Linked DNA regions of Homo sapiens: all the other regions are linked to region 3. Evidence: promoter capture Hi-C in 16 types of primary human blood cells and fetal thymus (Javierre and others, 2016). All regions are on one chromosome and are shown on one strand. The core of a region is centred on a gene start or on the middle of the fragment in contact, and the rest is flanking DNA. Distances in the headings are between cores, read along the strand shown. Region 1 holds the start of ZNF267 (zinc finger protein 267). Region 2 has its middle 54 kb from the start of ZNF267. Region 3 holds the start of PRSS36 (serine protease 36). Region 4 has its middle 14 kb from the start of KRABD5. Region 5 has its middle 20 kb from the start of ZNF267.

Region 1 (3,737 bases), core at 20-2,519, 720 kb after region 3:
AACCAAGCTAGATGGCGGCCGAGGGCCCTGGCCCAGTTTGACACCCACCTCCTCTCCCACCTTCTACTCAGCCAGAAGACTAGGAGAATCTACTCAGCCGGAAGACTACGAGGTGCTGCAGCGCCACTAGCTCCAAGACTCCAGAAAAACAGGAATAGGGCATTCTGGCAGGTCAAAGCAGACAGAATACTTGAGCTCAGGAGTTGGCGAACTGACTATTAACCTGTAGCCCCAGTTACTTGGGAGGCTAAGGTGGGAGGATCGCTTGAGCTCAGGAGATGGAGACCAGCCTGGGCAACATGGTGAAACCTCATCTCTACAAAAAATACAAAAATCAGCCGGGCATGGTGGCATGTGCCTGTAGTCCCAGCTACTCAGGAGGCTGAGGTGGGAAGATTGCTTGAGCCCCGGAGGCTGCAGTGAGCCATGACTGCACCACTGCACCAGCCTGGGCAATAGAGTGAGACCCTGTCTCAAAACAAAAGCAAAAACCAGAGGTAGGGCTGAGGAGTCCGTGGCCACAGAGCCTGAGCCAGCACGGCCCAGAGGAACTGAGCTCCCAGCCCTGTCGCTGCCAAGGACCCTTCTTCCCTGAGCTTGAAGGGATTGAGAAGGAGAGACAGACGGACAGTCAGCGGCCCCGTTACCAGTGATGCAGACTCCAGGAGATGCGGGCAGAGTTGTAGATTAGAAGAATAGGCCAGCCCCTCTTCCACGTTCCACCACGGCCCGCAACATCCTCCTGGGACCCCAGCCTGCATGCCCCTATAAGATGCTTTTGCACTGGTTCAGTCTATGTATCATGCGAGGGCCTAATTGAAAACACGTGAATGAAGTGTACGGCCTTCTGTTCCCAGCTGAGGGGCCCCCTCCCACGGTGGCGTTAGCAGTGGGGTACAGTGCGGTAAGAGAGGTGCTAAGGGACGGGATGAGGGTCTTTCTTGCTTTAAAGGTGTCTAAATATACTTCTTCTTAAACTTAATTAGCTAATAAGATGTCTTATACAAGCAGAACCAGGTAAGGGAAAGAGCAAGTGTATTTCAAGTCGCAGCTCACCCCTTAATTAGCTGTAATACCCGCAGCAGGCGGCCCCACCTCAATGAGCCAGTCTCCCTTTCAAAAAAAAAAAAAAAAAAGGCACTAATAATGAGGGGGCGGGGCATGGAGCTTTATCCAATCAGGGGCGCTGGAGTGGAAACCGTCCAATCAGGAGTGAAGCCGGAGAGCAGGGGCGGCTTCCGGGATTTGGCGGGGGCCTTCGTCGGCTCCAGTTAGAGCTCGGGTCTCCTCGCCACAGCTCCGAGTCTTTCGTTCTGGGAGGCCCAGGCGGCTTCGCGTTCTGAGAATAAACAGAACCTCTGTTGCTCTGCGACTTGCAGGCACTGGGAGATTCGTAGCTAAGACGCCAGGGCATCCCGGAAGCTGGGAAATGGTGAGTGTGCGGGGTCGGGGGTCCCCAGAGGGAGGGAGGGCGGTGGTCGGAAGCGGCGGGAACCCGCTGTAGGGGCACCCGGGCCTCCCCGCAGTCAGCCTCGGGGTCTGGGCCCCGAGTCCCAACTGGTGCAGCTCGGCCCTCGGTCCCCTCCGCTGCAAGATGGCGGCCAGGCCGGCAGCCGGGACCCCGCGTGTCCTGTCCCATCCCGACCCCGCAGAGCGACCTCGTCCCTGGCCGGAGCCCTCTCTGGGCAGCTCCGCGTCGCAGCCCCGCGTCTCCCCCAGATTGTGCGGTGAGGACGGGAGCGTCTCAGGGGAGACCCAGGTTCGGTGTGTGGGAAGAAACCGTGCCCTGTGGGGTCCTCAGTCACTACTCCTCTTAAGAATTAAAGGGAGTCACTGTTAAAACGTTGAAGAATTTGAGCAAATAGCGATTTGTGACATGGGAAGCCTGCAGTCCTGGTTTGTGGTTCGGAGATCCCCAGAGGGGCTTGAAGGAAAGGTTTTTATAAGGTGCATGAGGAAGCAGACCAAATTAACCGATGGGTTACAGTTTGTAGTTGCCTTATTTAGACTATGCAGGTGGAGGTGAATTGGAGCTTTGTGGTTCGTTAAGTCTGAATTTTGTTTTCCCCTAAAGTTGTAATTTACAAGAAAAGCATTTGAGTTTGGTTTTGGTTTTTCTCCCTAGAAACCTGGGGCACTATAACCACTTCCGTATAATCGCCTGCTCATTAATCATCTTAACACTGCCCAGGGGAACTGGTTTTCCCCCTGCGCTTTCCTAACGTGTAGCACGCAGAGTCTCAAGTCCACCACTGTGTTCCCCCAGTCTAACTGGGCTTGCAATAAAATATTAAATTTCCAGTTCCTTCCCGACATTTCCAAAGGCCAACTTCCCCTCTCCAGTTCACATTCTTAACTATTGGTCATTTATTGTACATTTCAGACAGTATTTTACTCATTAATCATGATTTCACAGAGCAGTGGATGACACTTTTTTAAAGATTTGTGTTTTTTTGGCATACATTTCACGTGAGAGGAAAGCAGAGAATAAAAAATCCCTGACACTCCACTGCAAAAAAAACTGTGCCTCTTTTTCATTCATCTTCCCCAGGCACAGACACGTTATCGGAAAGAATGTCTTTTGACTTGAGGTTTTGCTTTGGAAACTTTACAGGGCCCTGTATAGCCACCCTCTATCCAGTCTTTTCCTGTTCCTGAATTTCAGAACTGTCTGGGATGACTCAAGATGCCCACAGTGGCCATGTCTCCTGGAGTGTTTAGTGACTGTCAGCCCCAGGTCACCTCCTGTTAGAGGACCGCCCAAGGTATGGAAATGTAGTCCCTCAGGGGAGCAGCTGGATGCCCTGGGGCTGAGAGAAATCTCCTGGGACACCCTTAACCTAAAAAGATAACCCCTTGGGACATAAGGATTTTATTTCTTCAAAGCTAGTTTTCATCCCTTGGAGACACATTGCTGGTCAGCCAATCGTTTGCTGGTATTGAGGGGAAACAGTCACAAATGATTCCTGCCCCCTAGATTCATTCAGATTTGTGAAGGGAGAAAAACTCCCAAAGGACCAAAAAACAAAAACCCCACCCCAGTGAGGTGGTGCAAACTCGGCTGCGGTGTCCATGGGGCACAGTGCAGGATCTGGGAGGATGGTCCCTGAGCATTTTAATGAGCAGTATTGGGGTAGGAGAATGTCTCAAATGATACCGTGACCTGACTTGACACTTGAGCCAGATATGTCTGTATTCCAACAGCATTACCACTCCCTGAGTTTGCTGCCTTAGATTGTTCATTTATTTCTACTTCAGTTTTTCAGTTAGTGTAAATTTCATCAGTAGAGCTTGAAAGATAAAAAACATTTCCAAGGCCATGAAAGGTGGATTTCAGAAAATTAAAATATCAAGTCATACTTCATTGTTAAAAATTCTTACTATCTTTTTTTTCAGCAGAATGAGTGTAGTAAGTTTCTCAGGTTTGTTCTTTTTTTGGGAGTAATTTAAAACAGAATCTCAGGGCTCACCTTTTGGAAATGCTGCCAGGGAAAAGAAACAGAGAAAATCTTTCTTTCATTATTGGCTGTAGAAAGTGAATACATTTTCACAACAACGTGTGGTAAATTGGTGAATTACATAGTTTCATCAAAACATCAGTTTCTTTTTTTTGTAGGGTGAAGAAGTTATGACAGTGGATATCTTTGTTCTTTATCCTCTTGTCTGGATGTTGAGTTTATTTTTTATTTTTTGTTTTTGGAGACAGGATCTCTCCTCTGTCACCCAGACTGAAGTGC
Region 2 (3,566 bases), core at 675-3,174, 780 kb after region 3:
GGCAGCAGGACAGCGTTAGAGTCCACATCACCTCCCATCTCTAAGCTGCTTTTAAGCACTTTTACAGCTTTTTGCCTACCATGTGTGTATCATGGGACTCTCCCTTGGTATGTTCTCAGATACTCTCTAGGATGTTTGCATTCTCAGAAACACCTGCTCCTCAGCTGGTCCCCATGGCCTTGGCTCACTACCTGGCCTTCAGTGCTCAAGCAGTGGATATACACCTTTAAGTTATCTAGTGGAGGACTTGTCACACTATAGGGTCTACATCATCCTTTCCAAACTCAAAGTTTCTACTCACAGACTTTTTTGTTGACTAAGGATTCTTCTGACATCCTGAACTAATTTAAGATTGCCTGGAAAGTCTTCCAACAAATCAGTAATAAAATGTATTCCTTATATCCTATGTCATCTTGAACATAATGGAATACATGGCCCAAAAAAACTCACCAGTGTTAGCCCACCAGCGTTGTAGTACCACAAAACAAGAGAAACATGATAATATAAATAAAGAAACTGAGTGTGCTGCCTTCTATTGCATTATAACAACATCAGCAAATGACTGACACCCTCTCCCCTGATTTTCAGGCATTAAAATTAGGGTTCTGTGGGTTAATCTTATATCAATATGGAGGGCTCTTTCTTTTTGATGACATTACCATTTAAATTTGTAATCTTTGAGTAAGCAGATTGTCCTACATACTGCGGGTTAGGCCTCATCCAATCATTTGAAGGTTTAAATAAAACAAAAAAGCCAGCCTTCCTGAGCAAGAGAAATATCTCCATTAGATCGCTTTTGTACTTTATCTGCACCATTAACTATGTCAAATTTTCCTCAAAATTAAAACTGGAATTGCCCTCTCAGATCTCAGTCTTAATCTTCTCAGCCCACATTGCAGATTTGGACTTGCCAGTCTCCATAATCAAATGAGCCTGTGTGTGTACATATATATATACACACACATACATGTATATGTATATTATATACTATATTATCATACACAAACATACACACGTGTGTGCATGTGTGCATGTTATCATATAGTATATAATATGTATTATAAGTATTGAATTATACACTACATATATTAAGGTTAAATGAATTCATAAGGGAGAGCCCTTATTCTGGTAGGAATGGTATCTTTATAAGAAGAGGAAGGGACACCAGAAAGCTCTTTCTCCACACACAGAGAGGAAAGCTATATGAGAACACAGAAGGGAGCCTCCAATAAGCCAGGAAGAGACGAGTTACTGGAAACCAACCCTGCATAATAGGACCTTGATCTTGGACTTAAAGCATCCAGAATTGTAGAAAAATAATTGTATGCTGTTTAGTCCATCCAGTTTGTGGTACTTGTTATGAAAACTTGAGATAATTTATACAATATACCATTGGCTCTATTTCTCTAAAGAATCTTGGCTAATACAGATTTTGGTACTAAGAGTGGTTTTATAGGAATGACCTGGATAAATCTTATTTTTTGGTTCTGAAGTTTCTGTATTGGGCTCAATAATTTGATTAAATTCAGACACTATTAATTATTTCCAGTAGTAATAAGAGCATTGATAGTGCATGTCATGACATGGCAAAAAAGGTGCAGAATATTGCCATTGAATACCCCTAATGAAGCATTTTTAGAATCAAGAACCTGGACAACCATGCCTATAATACTTTGAAACATTTTTGTCAAAATAAAAATATATGAATATTGACTGGTTGTTTGTAATGTCCGTGGACAAAGTGGGGAAAGAAAAGAATGAGCTCAGAAAAAAAAATGTGTATGCCAAATTCCACGTTCATGACCTTAAAGCTTCTATGTCTGCCATGAAGATGCTTATCTCCAGTAACCACAAGGCCAAGATTGCTGAAAACCAAATGCAGAATCTCATCCTGTGAGTACCTGAATTACAACACAAATTAAATTACCAGACTAGTGTCATGTCAAATATCAAAATGACGACAGAAGAGAATGGGAACCTATATTCAGCATTCTTAAAGAAAATAATTTCTGACTAATAATTTTATATCCAGCCAAATTAAGCTTCATAAGTGAAGGAGAAATAAGATCCTTTTCAGGCAAGCAAATACTAATGAAATTTGTTACCACCAGACCTGCCTTACAAGAGTTCCTGAAGGGAGTGCTACATATGGAAATAAAAGACTGTTATCAGCCATTATAAAAACACATTTGAATACATAGACCAGTGACACTATAAAGCAACCACACAAACAAGTCTGCATAGTAGCCAACTAACAACATAACAGGATGAAGTCTGCACATATCAATATTAACCTTGAATGTAAGTGAGCTAAATGCCCCAATTAAAAGGCATAGAGTAACAAGTTAGACAAAGAAGCAAGACCCAATGGTATGCTGTCTTTGAGGGAAACATCTCACATGCAATGATACCTGTAGGCTCAAAGAAAAGGGATGAAGAAAAATCTACCAAGCAAACAAACAAACAAAAAGCCTGGGGTTGCTATTTAATTCCAGACAAAATAGACTTCAAACTAACAAAGATCAAAAAAGACAAAGAAGGACATTACGTAATGGCAAAGAACTCAATTAAACAAAAAGACCTAACTATCCTAAATATATATTCATGCATCACAGGAGCACCCAGGTTCATGAAGCAAATTCTTACAGACCTGTGAAGAAACTTAGATAACCACACAGTAATAGTGGGAGACTTCAACAACGAATTCAGAGTTATTAGACAGATCATTGAGGCAGAAAACTAACAAAGGTATTCAGGACCTGAACTCGACACTTGACCAAATGAACCTAATAGAGATCTACAGAACTCTCCACCCCCAAACACCAGAATACACATTCTTCTCATCTGCACATGGCACACACACTCTAAGACTGACTGCACAATTAGATATAAAATAATCCTCAGCAGATTTTTAAAAAATCATACCAACCACAGTCACAGACCAGAGAGAAAGAAAAATACAAATTAATACTAAGAAAATTGATCAAAACCATACAATTACTTGGAAATTAAACAACATGTTCCTGAATGACTTTTGGGTAAACAATGAAATTAAAGCAGAAATTATGAAATTCTTTGAAACTAATAAAGATACAACATACCAGAATCTCTGGAACACTAAAGTAGGGTTAAGAGAGAAACTTATACACTAAACACCCACATCAAAAAGTTACATCTGAAATTGACAACCTAACATCACAACTGGAGGAACTAGAGAAACAAGAACAAACCAACCCCAAAGCCAGCAGAAGACAAGAAATAACCAAAATCAGATCTGAACTGAAGGAAACTGAGATTTAAAAAAACCCATATAATAGATCAATAAATTCAGAAGTTGGTTATTCGAAAGAATTAATAAGATAGATTGACTACTAGCTAGAAGATTAAATAAAAAAGAGAAAAGGTTCAAATAAACAATCAGAAAAAAATGGGACATTACCACTGATGCTGCATAAATACAAAATACCCTAAGAGACAACTACAAACTTATGTACATAAAAGCTAGAAAACCTAGAAGAAGTAGATACATTCCTGGAAACATACAACCTCCCAAGACTGAACTGGGA
Region 3 (3,877 bases), core at 652-3,151:
GAATGGGGTGCGTGTGGGTGATTCCGTGGTCTTAGTTTGAGAATCCTTGCAGGGAGAAGGCTACATGGAGATCGGTGTGGGATTCATCCACCGACCCGCAGAAACCTACCCTCCAACGCTCCCCGCAGGCTCCGCTCCGTGGCCCCACCTCCTGAGGCCCCGCCCTAGGAACCTCACCTCTCGAAGCCCCACCTCCCCGAGGCCCTCCCCTCTTGTCCCGTCCCACTCACCTGCCTCCTGGACGTCTCCCCAGCCGGTGGCCCAGCAGGCGGTGCCGTGCACGAAGCGGTGTGAGGCGCGGGGCAGGCAGACAGGCCACACGGCGGGGCCCAGGCTGGCGGGTGAGGCCAGGCGCAGCAGGGCCAGGTCGGCGCCCAGCTCCACTTGGCTGTAGTTGGCCGGCACCACGATGGCGGCCACTGCGCGGGTGTGCGCGCCGTCCAGGGGCCCGTCCTGGGAGTGCACGCCCAGCAGTACCGACCACTCGGCCGCGGGCTCCAGCGTCCCATTCCTGCGCTCGACCGGGGCAGTAGGAGGTTAGGTTGACCCTATGGAGGGGGCAGACCCTCGTTGGGGGCAGGGGCTCAGAGCCAGAGGGGCAGGTGCTATCCGATCCAGATTTGGTGCTGATACTCCTCAAAGGGGAAGAGCAAATCCGATTTGGAGCTGGTGGTGGGGGGGTCATTGGAAAGATGGGATTCAGACCCGGATATTGAGTGGAGTGGTGGGACCAGTCCGGCAGCCTTGCCCCACTCGGAACCATGATGCCTCGAATAGCACCTCGCTTTGGGGACAGCTTGGCTCCAAATTATCCTTGAGGACGGAAGTGGGGCGGGAGGAGGGGACCAACTGCGGGGGCGGGGGCCAGCTTTTGGCGGAGAGGGGCCAGGACCAGGGCGAATACTCACGTCATGAAACAGTGAGCAGCGGAGAGGACCCAGGAGGGGGCGATGAGGGAGCCCCCGCAGATGTGGCCACCTCCATGGTGCAGGCTCACTTGCCAAGGCCAGGTGCCCGGCTGCGCGTTTGAGCCCCCCACGATGCGGGCCGAGGGCTCAGGGCGCCCGCAGTCTGCAACGGGGAGCCGTGGAAGCCAAAGCTCCCCTCGGGTTCCCCACTCCAGAAGCCCAGGTAACTCAGGACGAAGGCCCGTCCTCCACCCACTTCAGTTTGCCCCTCTGAACAAAGAACATAGAGGACCCAGGCTTGTCTACATTTCTGGTCTTTTCCACCTCCCTCATGGCCTGACCAGCCTTAGCCTCCTTTAAGGTCTGAGGGTGCCAAGGCCTCTTCCTTACCCAGATCTTCAGGTTCTTCCTGGGTAGGACTGAGAGCTGGGAGCCAGAGGGGAAAGAGAGGAGGACACTTGTGACTTCCAGGCCTGCACCGCCCAGCCCCACTTCCTGCTCTCCAACCCCCGACCCTATCTTCCCACTTCCCTGTCCGTTCAGCAACCCCTGCCAGCACCCATGCCAGTCCTCTGGTCTTTTCTGCCTCTGCACGTGACTTTCCCCCAGTCCGGCTACCTTACCTGAGTCCTGGAAGGCTCCTGGGATGGGACTGATGACTGGAAAGACAGAGGTAGGCAGGAAGAGGCTGGCGACTCGCACTCAGTATGTGCCCTCCCTGACTCCCTCCCCCAGCCTCCTAGCCTCCGTCTCCCCAGGGCACCCAGGCCTCCCTCTCCCTCCTCTGATACATCCTCGCCTTCTGCTGCCTCACTTCCTTCTCTCTGACTTCCTGCTCCCCACACAGAAACCAGGAATCCTGCTCTCCAGCCCCCCAGATGCCAGGACCCAGGCCCTTTGCAGCCACTCTTGTCCCCTGAGGTTACCAAGCATCACAAGGGGGAGGAGCAGGTGCCGGGCCATGGCGCTAGAGTCAGCGGAGGCAGAGCCAAGTGAAGGTCTGCTCCCTGCAGGGCTCTGTCACTGCCCAGGCAGCCCGTGACTCCTGATGGTCCCAGGGGCAGCCCCACCCTCCCTGGCTGGAGCCCATCTCTGGGAATCTGAGAGGATCTGGGGCTGGAAGGGGGAAGCTGGGGAGCCTGAAGGCCCCACCCAGAGCCCTGCGCACATCTCATGTCTCTGGAGGCCCAGGGTGGGGGTGGAGGACAGGTGTCCTAGCTCCTGGACACCTGTTGGGTGGGAGAGGGAGGGATGAAAAACACTGCAGGCAAAGGTCAAAGAGGAGGACAGTGTTCTGTGTCCTTGGTGAGCAGTGGCCCTTAGGACAGGGGAAGTGGCCCCTCACGGGCATGACTCATCGGAGACCTCACCTCTGTTTGGGGTGCGGCTGCCCCAGTGGCTTGGCCTTTTCTTCTCACACAGCTCTGGTTACTGGAGCTGCTGGCCAGGTCTGGGACAGGAGCCCTAGGGAATTCAATCCCATCCCAACAAAAGGATCACAGATTCCAGCAGGTTGGGCAGGGCATAGGGACCCTGGGAGGGGGCTGGGCAGGCTGGCGAGGCTGAAAAAGCCTCCACCCTGCTCTGTGTTCCAGTGACAATGCTCTTAGCTGCCCTGTCACTTACTCTGTGTGACTTTGGGAAAGTAACCCAACCTCTTGGTGTGTATCAGTAAGAGCCAGTTTAAGGGACATATGACTTGGCCGAGCACGGTGGCTCACTCCTGTGATCCTAACACTCTGGGAGACTGAGGTGGGAGGATTGCTTGAGGCTAGGAGTTCAAGACCAGCCTGGTCAACATAGCAAGACCCCATCTCTACAAAAAATTAAAAAATACAAAAATTATGAACTGCAGGGCGTGGTGGTGCACGTCTGTATCCCAGCTACTCGGGAGATGAGGTGGGAGGATTGCTTGAGCCTGGGAGGTCGAGGTTGCAGTGAGCTATGATTGTGCCACTGCACTCCAGCCTGGGTGACAAAGCGAGACCCTGTCTCAACAACAACAACAAAAAGAAAAAAAAAAAGAAGAATAAGAAGAAGAAAGAAACATATGGCTCTTCAAAGAGGAGTTGAAGAGAGTTTAAGGAAGAAACTATTTATAGAAGTGTAGGCAGGGTCAAAGGAAACCAAAGAGGCTGGGTGGCTCACGGCTGTAATCCCAGCACTTTGGTAGGCCGAGGCGGGCAGATCACCTGAGGTCAGGAGTTCAAGACCAGCCTGGCTAACTTGGAGAAGCCCCATCTATACTAAAAATACAAAAATTAGCCGAGTGTGGTGGAACTCACCTGTAATCCCACCTATTAGGGAGGCTGAGGCAGATAAAAATGCTTGAACCCAGGACGTGGAGGTTGCAGTGAGCCAAGATAGCGCCGTTGCACTCTAGCCTGGGTGACAAGAGCGAACTCCGTCTCACAAAAAAAAAAAAAAAAAGGAAACCAAAGAGGGATGGTAACGCATCCTGGGGCCAGCAATAATAGAGAGCCCTTGCTACCTGCTGGCCTGAAGAGGCAGAGAGGGGGCAGTTACTGGAACCCAGCAAGAGCTGCAGCTATGGAAGAGATAGCTGTTAGGAGCCGTGGCCTTCAATAGAGAAATGCAGCCTTTACCAGCAGAGAGGGAGTGGGGAAAGAAAAATCCCCATCTCACTCTCATCTCATCCTCTCTATTTTTAATTAAACCAATTAAAAAATTTTAGAGACACGGTCTCACTCTGTCACCCAGGCTGGAGTGCAGTGCTGTGATTATAGCTCACTGTAACCTCGAATTCCTGGGCTTAAGCGATCCTCTGGCCTCAGCCTCCTGAGAAGCTGGGACTACAGGCACGCACCACCATACCCAGCTAATGTTTTTTATTTTTGTAGAGATGGGGTCTTATTATGTTGCCCAGGCTGGTCTCAAACTCCTGTCTCAAGCGATCTTGCTGCCTCAGTCTTCCAAAAGTGCTGGGATCCTCCCATCCTCTGATCACC
Region 4 (3,682 bases), core at 908-3,407, 550 kb after region 3:
GTTAAAGTCCTGGAACATAGAGATAAGAGGTAAGTGAGCATCCCCTGGTGGAGAAAGGGAGTCTTTTCCCAGAATCAGTGTTTTCCCTCGCCTTGTGTCCATTGGCAATCACTCAACACAAACTGGTGGCCATTCGGTACAATCAAACAAGCAAGCAAACAAAATCATCAATATGCTTGTGCAGCTACACTTGATAATTTATGTACAGTAAAGGAATAAGGAAGGAGAAAGTGAAGAATAGAGAAGGGGATACTGGACCAATCAGACGTGGTGGAACCATATTGCAGTTTTCCACATGAGAATGTCTGTAGGAACAGAGTTCTGGGGTAAAGCCGTGAGTGTGTTCTCAGTAGACACTCCAGTCTGCTTCTGGAACACATCAACTGAATCTTTGTCCTCTGTTTCCAGTTCTGCAGATGTGTCTGTTTCACTGATTGGCCCCAGTCAAAGTGGAATCTGATCTGTGTCATGGACAAACTCTGCCTTTCACCAAAGGCTTCCACTCATTCACTAAGTGGTGTGTGCCTCTTCACCATCAACTGCACCCCGGGACCATCCTACCTGCCACTTTCAAATTCACAGGATTCTGCTCTCGGCCTTGACTCAGGCTCTTTCTCTGCCATAGCAGAGCCTGAAGGCTCTTCAGCTGCAGCTTCACCAAAGAGGTCCAGAGTGTGCACCAAACTAGTGAGCCAGCAGCTCCCGATGCCACAAGTGGAGGAGGCAGCAGAGCCTTACCCGGTGTTTTTATCACCATCCCTGCAGCAACAGCAGCAGCAGCAGCAACAACAATCACAACCACTATTTCTAATTGTGGTAATAATAATGATCACACTTAGAATAATGATGAATAACAATAATTGTAATTGCTGACATATTCAGTTTATATGTAGATTTATTATTTGTAATGTTTTAAAATTTACATTTAGTAATATAGACATTAATTGTGTCATAAATGTCAGGACCCCAAAACACCCCACCTAATGAATGACTCTCATCTATGGACCTATGGCTGCCCACCTGCTAGTGCGGGTGCTCTCACCACTCCACCCCCAGAGCTTCGATCTGTCTGGTCAACCTTCTAGGATGATGAAGTAGCTGAAGCACTCTTATGATCTGATTGAGGTCTTGGCAAACAGCTTGACTTGTTAGAAATCGAAGGCTGACTTTAAGACGTACTCAGCTGTTTGGCTAAATTGAGGCAGGAGGAAATGTCTTCTCGGCAGATCTACCTTTGTGTCTCTTGCTTTCAGAGTAAAACGTTGTTTCGGGAACAGTAGTTTAATTTAGTCTGTGTTAAAAATCATAATCAGACTACAAATAACGCACGGGGATGAAAATAATTTGCACACATGTTCGTGCATTATATGTGTTTTCAGATCTCTCCTATGGTAAGAAATGAAAAAGTTATGCCTTGATTTTTTAAACTCAGCCATCAGCCATTTTCCCAAGTTAATCTAAATGTTTGCAAGACATTTCAGAAGCATTCTCTGGTGGGGATTACTCCTAATTGTGAATAATCCTACTAGAAGGATGAGCATCTCAAAAGAACCTTTATTCTATTGCAGAAGAGTCAGTCTTCAGGATCTCAAAGGCCTAGGGAAGCTGCTTGAGTTGTGAGGTCTATGGAGGTACATGGGCTTTGGAGTCAGGCAAAGTTGATCCAGAGTCCCAGTCCAGCCACTTAGTAGCTGTAGTGCTTTGGACATGTTCCTTGACTTGGAACAGTTATATAAACCTTGCTGTAAGAAAAGGCAGAATGATACTGACTGCAAAATGGCTCTGGTGTCCATGCCCTTTGGAATATGCTTTTACAGCTGCTCCAACATAGAGGCAGAATCTGTTTCCTGACGCTTGGATCTGGGCTGGCCTTATTTGCTCTGGGCAATAGAAAGCTATCAATATGGCAATGTGACAGTTTGGGGTCTAGGGACATAAGGCCTTGAATGCTTCTGCTTTTTCTTTTAGAACCCTGCCATCTCCATGAGAACAAGCACATGTTAGCCTGCTGGAGGATGAGATCCCACTGGGGAGGAAAACCAAGGTGCCCCAGCTGACACCCAGAAGCAGAGCCACTTAGTCAACCAGCAGCTGACCACACACGCCTGAAGGAGCCCAGCTGAGACCAGAAGAATGGCCCAGTTGAGTCCAGCCTAAATGACTGACCATCCCAATCATGAGCTAATAAGGTTTAGGGTGGTTTTTAATGCAGCAATAGCTAACTGATACATACACCTGCAGTCAGGTTGCCAGGATTCAAATGACAGGTTGGTCACTACTTGTTGTTACCTGGCAAACAGAAGGCACTGTATAAGGTATTGATTTGCTTTTCCCTTTATTTAAAGTGGGGCCTCTTGTTGGATAGGGATAAATTATACAGAAATGCATGTTGACATGCTTGGTGCTTAAACTCACACAGTCCCCACACCATAGGAGGAAACAGCCCGCCATAGCCTAACCATCAGGGCCAAGGGCAAATTGCAAAATAAAAAAAATTTGCTTTTATTCCCTCCACATCCAAACTTTGGAGGTCAAGGCTGTAGACAGATCTGAAGTCAGGGGTTTCCTCCTGAAGCCTGACACTCTTCATTCACTGTCTGACCTTTGGAAGGCTGAGGGAGCCCTGCCCAGAAGCAGGTGGGCAGCAGTGGTCGACCTGTGGACACCTCCTGACTGCAGCCCTGGCTCTCTCACTGGGCACTGCCTCTCCCACCCTTGGGCATGAGGAAAGAGATGGGCAGGATGAGGGTGTTCGCTCTCGTCTGGCAGGAAAGGGGGTCCAGGCCCTCGATTTCCCTGAGGTTAGACGCGCAAGTGCCCTCAGATCTGCTCTTCAATGCGGAAGCCACTGCCCACGTGGGGCTGCTGAGCTCTTTGGATAGAGCTGGTTGGAACTGAGATGTGCTAGAAGTTTAAATACAGAGTGACTTTACAAGATTTAGTACCCCAAACTTAAGAAGCATTCTCTGGTGGTCTTCATTAATAATTTCATATTGCTCACATATTTGAGTGATAATATTTTGGATATATCGGGTTAAGGTATTACCATCAATTTTACCTGTTTTCCTTTCATGATGCCACTAGGCTACTGTAAATGACACATGCGGCTCAATTTTATTCCTATTGGACATTTCTGACTTAGAGGACTCCCTCCATTTTCAAATCTCATGCTGCCTCCACAAGGGACCAGAGGCCATGAAGGTTATGAAATCTGAAATTTTAAAAGAATCGTTATTATATAATTTTCAATTTTACATATTACCTATATTACTCATAAATTGATATAATCTTATGAGCAAAGTTAAATACCAATGTCCGGAGCAGCCCCAGGTCCCAGCACAGGGAGTCAGCCCTGCCTGAAAAGGGCTGCAGACAATCATTCATTCAGGCCTCATTCAGCCACACCTGTGATCGCATCTCCTGTCACTCGGGGGTAAGGGGGCGGGACCTGGAGCCCTATCCATTCAGCGGCGCCGTTGTCGAGCCTGTCCAATCAGGCGCGCAGCCGAAAAAGGGGGCGCACTTCCTGTGTTCTGGGCTGGCCTTTTCCTCTCCCAGGTGCGCTTCCCTGCTTGATCTGTGTACCCTGCTCTTTCTCCTTCATTCCGCAGCCTCCTTTGCCCTGTGACCTGCAGGTACTGGACGGTCCCTAGAGAGGATACCGGGACGCTCCTGAAGCCGC
Region 5 (3,800 bases), core at 189-2,688, 700 kb after region 3:
GCCTTAACGGAAATACCTGTCCTGGATGTGCTCACAGGCATGTCCCAGCTCACAGCCTGTCACTTCCTTATTTAGGAATGTTATTACTTTTCTAAGTCCTTTCATAAACAACTTCCTCTTTTCATTTATCTTTCCATTGCTTTTACCTGTTTAAAAAATTTTAAGTTATTAGCCAATCAGGTTTTAATTTAAATTATGAAGTCTGTCTCCAGCCAATAAAAACAGGACACAAGAGCAGGGACAAGCTACATAAAAAATAAAAATTGCTTCCCTCCCTTGTTCAAATGTGCTCTTGCCATTGTTCCATCTGCAAGGAGCACCCTTTCTGCAGAAAGTAAAATTTCCTTGCTAAAAAAACCTTTTTGTCTAAATGCTAATTTTTCCTTACATGACCGAAAAACAAGCATTCTGTTTCTAAATAAACGTCTTACCTATAACATATACCATTACAAAATTACAAATATCCTTTCGAACATCTGTAAATTTATGTGCTCATGATATTAAAATTTATATTTTTATCTGAAAATAGTTATAATTCAGTGAGACACAAGAACAAAATTATGAGAGAGTTATCTACATCATTGAGAAAATCCTCCTGCCACTACCAACGTAAGTCGTGATCACTCACTTTTACTAAAGCTGAGAAACATCCATTTGCCCAGCGGAGTCCTGGAGTGAGTCTGTGTGTGTGGATGGTGGTCCCTGAGACTTGGTTATAAAGAAGGGATACTGTCAGCTCGTCTCCCTCCAGGCCCATAACTGTCATGTCACCTGTAGAAGCAGGACAGCCCTGGCCTCGAGATTATTGGAAAGGGGAGCAACAAAAGGAAAAACTGAACACATTTAATTCCTGGAAAAGATCAGTGTAGGACAGATGGGTTTCAAACTTTAACGTGTGCAAGCTTGTTTTCTTAGGTAATTTTGCCCAGGAGGGTTGTCTGGTCTCAGTTATTGCCAATAAAGTAGAAGCAATAACTATAGTTTCAAACTTTGTTTAATTTCTGTGTTGCTTTACCAAACATCCTTGCTAACTGAAGAAATTTCTGGGGGCCTTCACACATGGTCCCCAGTTGTCCCTACGTTTCAATATTACAGGTAGTCTATGTAAAACTTTTTTGGGAATGAAGAAAATGCCCCCTGCACCAGGCTTACATAGCGCTTACAGTGAAGTTGTTTCTACTTACAGGGATGTTTAACTACACAGTCAGCATGAGAGCATGTGGAATAAAATGATTAACACATTCTTAGCAACTGACAACTTTTATTTGCTTCTGAGACACCACCAACCACACCTATGTTATAACTAGTGCTAACTTTAACCTTGATCATGATTGCCACATTTGGAGTTACACTTTCTTAATCAAACATCATCTGATACTGAAGTGGTGACTTCTCATGCACTTAATCTATAGATTTTCCCCCAAGGCACCAGTTCTGAATATGTTTGAGTTCATGCTGGTGTACCTCTCATGTGCCATATCTGAGGCTCTAACAAATAAACTCTCCAGGCCGGGCACGGTGGCTCATGCCTGCAATCCCAGCCCTTTGGGAGGCCAAGGCAGGCGGATCACTTCAGGTCAGGAGTTTGAGACCAGCTGGCCAATACGGTGAAACCCCGTCTCTACTAAAAACACGGAAATTAGCCAGGCATCATGGCAGGCACCTGGAATCCCAGCTATTCAGGAAGCTGAGGCAGAAGAATCACTCAAACCCAGGAGGCAGAGGTTGCAGTGAGCTGAGATCGGGCCACTGCACTCTAGGCTGGGCAACAGAGCGAGATTCTGTCTCAAAAATTAAAATAAAATAAAATACAAAATAAACTTTCCATTCAGCTGCAGTCAGGACCACTTGATCCCCAGACTTCTACTGTCTTCAGTGACAATTCTCCCTGTCATCTTAAACCCAGCTGCCATCACTATGACGTTGGTGCTCAATCCAGTCAGTGTCCTTAGGTCTTGATTTATTTTCCTTCTCTGAAGCTTTTCAATTACTTCTTTATAAATTATTTTGTCTGATGCTCACAGAAAAAGCCTGCCTAATAAGAACCCTATACCCACAAAAACTAGCTATTAAAAATGAAGGTTAAATAAAAACATTTTATGTAAATAAAAACTGATACAATTTGTTGCTAGCCAACTGACCTTATGAAAAAATGGCAAAAGAAGTTTTTCAGGCTGAAAGCAAGTAAATCCAGACAATAATTTGAATGCATAAGAAAGACAAAGCACACACTAGCAAAACTAATTACATAATTATAAGACAGTGTAAGTGAATTTATTTATTTATTTATTTATTTGCACATGAATAAATTCTTTAGTGGCGATTTCTGAGATTTTGGTGCACCCATCTCCCAGGGGCCTAATAACAGCTCCAGAAGGCCTGCCATCACTGGTGCCCTAGCATGAGCTCCAGAGGTCTGGGACTTCCCCTGCCCTGCCCACAGCCTATGCTCATGTGCATCACTAGGAGGACTTGAGAACAGGCCCACCTCACCTGCCTCTCTCCCACCCTTAGTGGTCAAATATTCCACTTGTGGACCTGAGGACAGCATTGTACAGGTGGTAGCCTCTGGCATGAGTCCACCAGGGTCCTAAAAACAGGCCAAGAAAATGTGCAGCCAGCACTCAAGCATGCTGTCTAAAGGTCTAGGAATCTCCCATGCCATCCACCACTGCTGTCATCTGGGTACTCTTGGGGTCCTAAGGATGGGCCCACCCAGACAACCACCAGCATCCACACTCATGTGTCACCTAAGGCTCTAGGGACTGTCTGATTCAGCCCATTGCAGCCACCACAAACACTGTGAGTGCTGCCTGGAAGCCTGAAGTTGCCTCAACCCCACTACTCTCCTCATCCACACGGTACACACTGCTCAGAGGCCTGAGGACTTGCCCCATTTCCTAGCCCACTGCTGTTACTACAGACATCAGAGCAAGCCTCCTGAAGGCCTGAGAATCAACAGGCTTAGGCACACTAACACCAGTGCCCACATACACTACCCAGCAGCCCAAGGACAGACACCCTCAACCCTTTACTGCTGCCACTGTCACCATGGGGGCTGAAGGACTGGCCTATCTGGTGTTCCATTCCTACCAAAACCTCACCACAGCCTCAACTAGCAAACACAGCCTAAGCAAGGTTATACCTCATAATGAAGGAGAAATAAAGACGTTCCCAGACAAGCAAAAACTGAAGAAATTCATCACCACTAGACAAGCCCTGGAAGATTACCTAGACAGAAAATCAATAATGAAACATCAGATTTAAACTGTACTTTAGACCAGGGGTCCCCAACCGTCGGGTCACAGACCAATACCCACCCCTGGCTTGTTAGGAACCAGGAAGCTCAGCAGGAGGTGAGTGGCAGGTGAGCCAGTGAAGCTGAGCTCTACCTCCTGTCAGATCAGCAGCAGCATTAGATTGTCATAGGAGCTCAAACCCTATTGTGAACTGCACATGCCAGTGATCCAGGCTGTATGCTCCTTATGAGAATCTAATGATAAATGTAATGCACTTAAATTATCCTGAAATCATCCCCCTCCCCTAGTCCTAGGAAAAATTGTCTTCCACGAAACCAGTTCCTGGTGCCAAAAAGGTTAGGCACCGTTGCTTTAGACCAAAGGAACCTAACAGACATCTGCAGAACACTTGATCCAATGACTGCAAAACATACATTCTTCTCAGAAGCACATGGAACAGTCTTCAGGATAGACCCTCTGTTAGGCCAGAAAACGAGTCTTAACAAATGTTTAAAAATTGAAATCATATCAAGTATTTTCTCATACTACAGTGAAATAAAG

What was found. Contacts are between HindIII fragments. The CHiCAGO score rates a contact against its expected background, and 5 or more counts as called.
Region 1: the fragment with the promoter of ZNF267 here is called in contact with the fragment with the promoter of PRSS36 in region 3 in 17 of 17 cell types (naive CD8 T cells, activated CD4 T cells, non-activated CD4 T cells and 14 more); the score reaches 34.9 in naive CD8 T cells.
Region 2: a contact is called between a fragment that was not itself captured here and the fragment with the promoter of PRSS36 in region 3, in 1 of 17 cell types (naive CD4 T cells). The highest score is 5.6, in naive CD4 T cells.
Region 4: a fragment that was not itself captured here is called in contact with the fragment with the promoter of PRSS36 in region 3 in 3 of 17 cell types (activated CD4 T cells, fetal thymus and endothelial precursors); the score reaches 7.0 in activated CD4 T cells.
Region 5: a fragment that was not itself captured here is called in contact with the fragment with the promoter of PRSS36 in region 3 in 10 of 17 cell types (activated CD4 T cells, endothelial precursors, total CD4 T cells and 7 more); the score reaches 9.3 in activated CD4 T cells.

Annotation. Positions count from the first base shown.
Region 1 is chr16:31,872,538-31,876,274 of GRCh38, forward strand. ZNF267 (zinc finger protein 267) reads left to right here and starts at 1,270. Exons shown (of 4, transcript NM_003414.6): 1 at 1,270-1,432. The coding sequence starts at 1,430. RefSeq lists an enhancer at 1,091-1,385 and silencers at 1,272-1,321, 1,472-1,551. The HindIII fragment of the contact is 12,710 bases long and covers 1-3,737 here.
Region 2 is chr16:31,925,870-31,929,435 of GRCh38, forward strand. No RefSeq gene overlaps it. Among named protein-coding and RNA genes, the nearest start is that of ZNF267, 54 kb to the left of the region's middle. The HindIII fragment of the contact is 231 bases long and covers 1,810-2,040 here.
Region 3 is chr16:31,148,165-31,152,041 of GRCh38, forward strand. It overlaps PRSS36 (serine protease 36), which reads right to left and starts at 1,902. Exons shown (of 15, transcript NM_173502.5): 1 at 1,835-1,902; 2 at 1,532-1,567; 3 at 1,299-1,334; 4 at 909-1,071; 5 at 231-511. The coding sequence starts at 1,871. RefSeq lists enhancers at 536-1,073, 1,074-1,609, 1,610-2,146. The HindIII fragment of the contact is 9,446 bases long and covers 1-3,877 here.
Region 4 is chr16:31,697,051-31,700,732 of GRCh38, forward strand. It overlaps the pseudogene CLUHP3. Among named protein-coding and RNA genes, the nearest start is that of KRABD5, 14 kb to the right of the region's middle. RefSeq lists a silencer at 3,367-3,506. The HindIII fragment of the contact is 5,761 bases long and covers 1-3,682 here.
Region 5 is chr16:31,852,221-31,856,020 of GRCh38, forward strand. No RefSeq gene overlaps it. Among named protein-coding and RNA genes, the nearest start is that of ZNF267, 20 kb to the right of the region's middle. The HindIII fragment of the contact is 1,077 bases long and covers 901-1,977 here.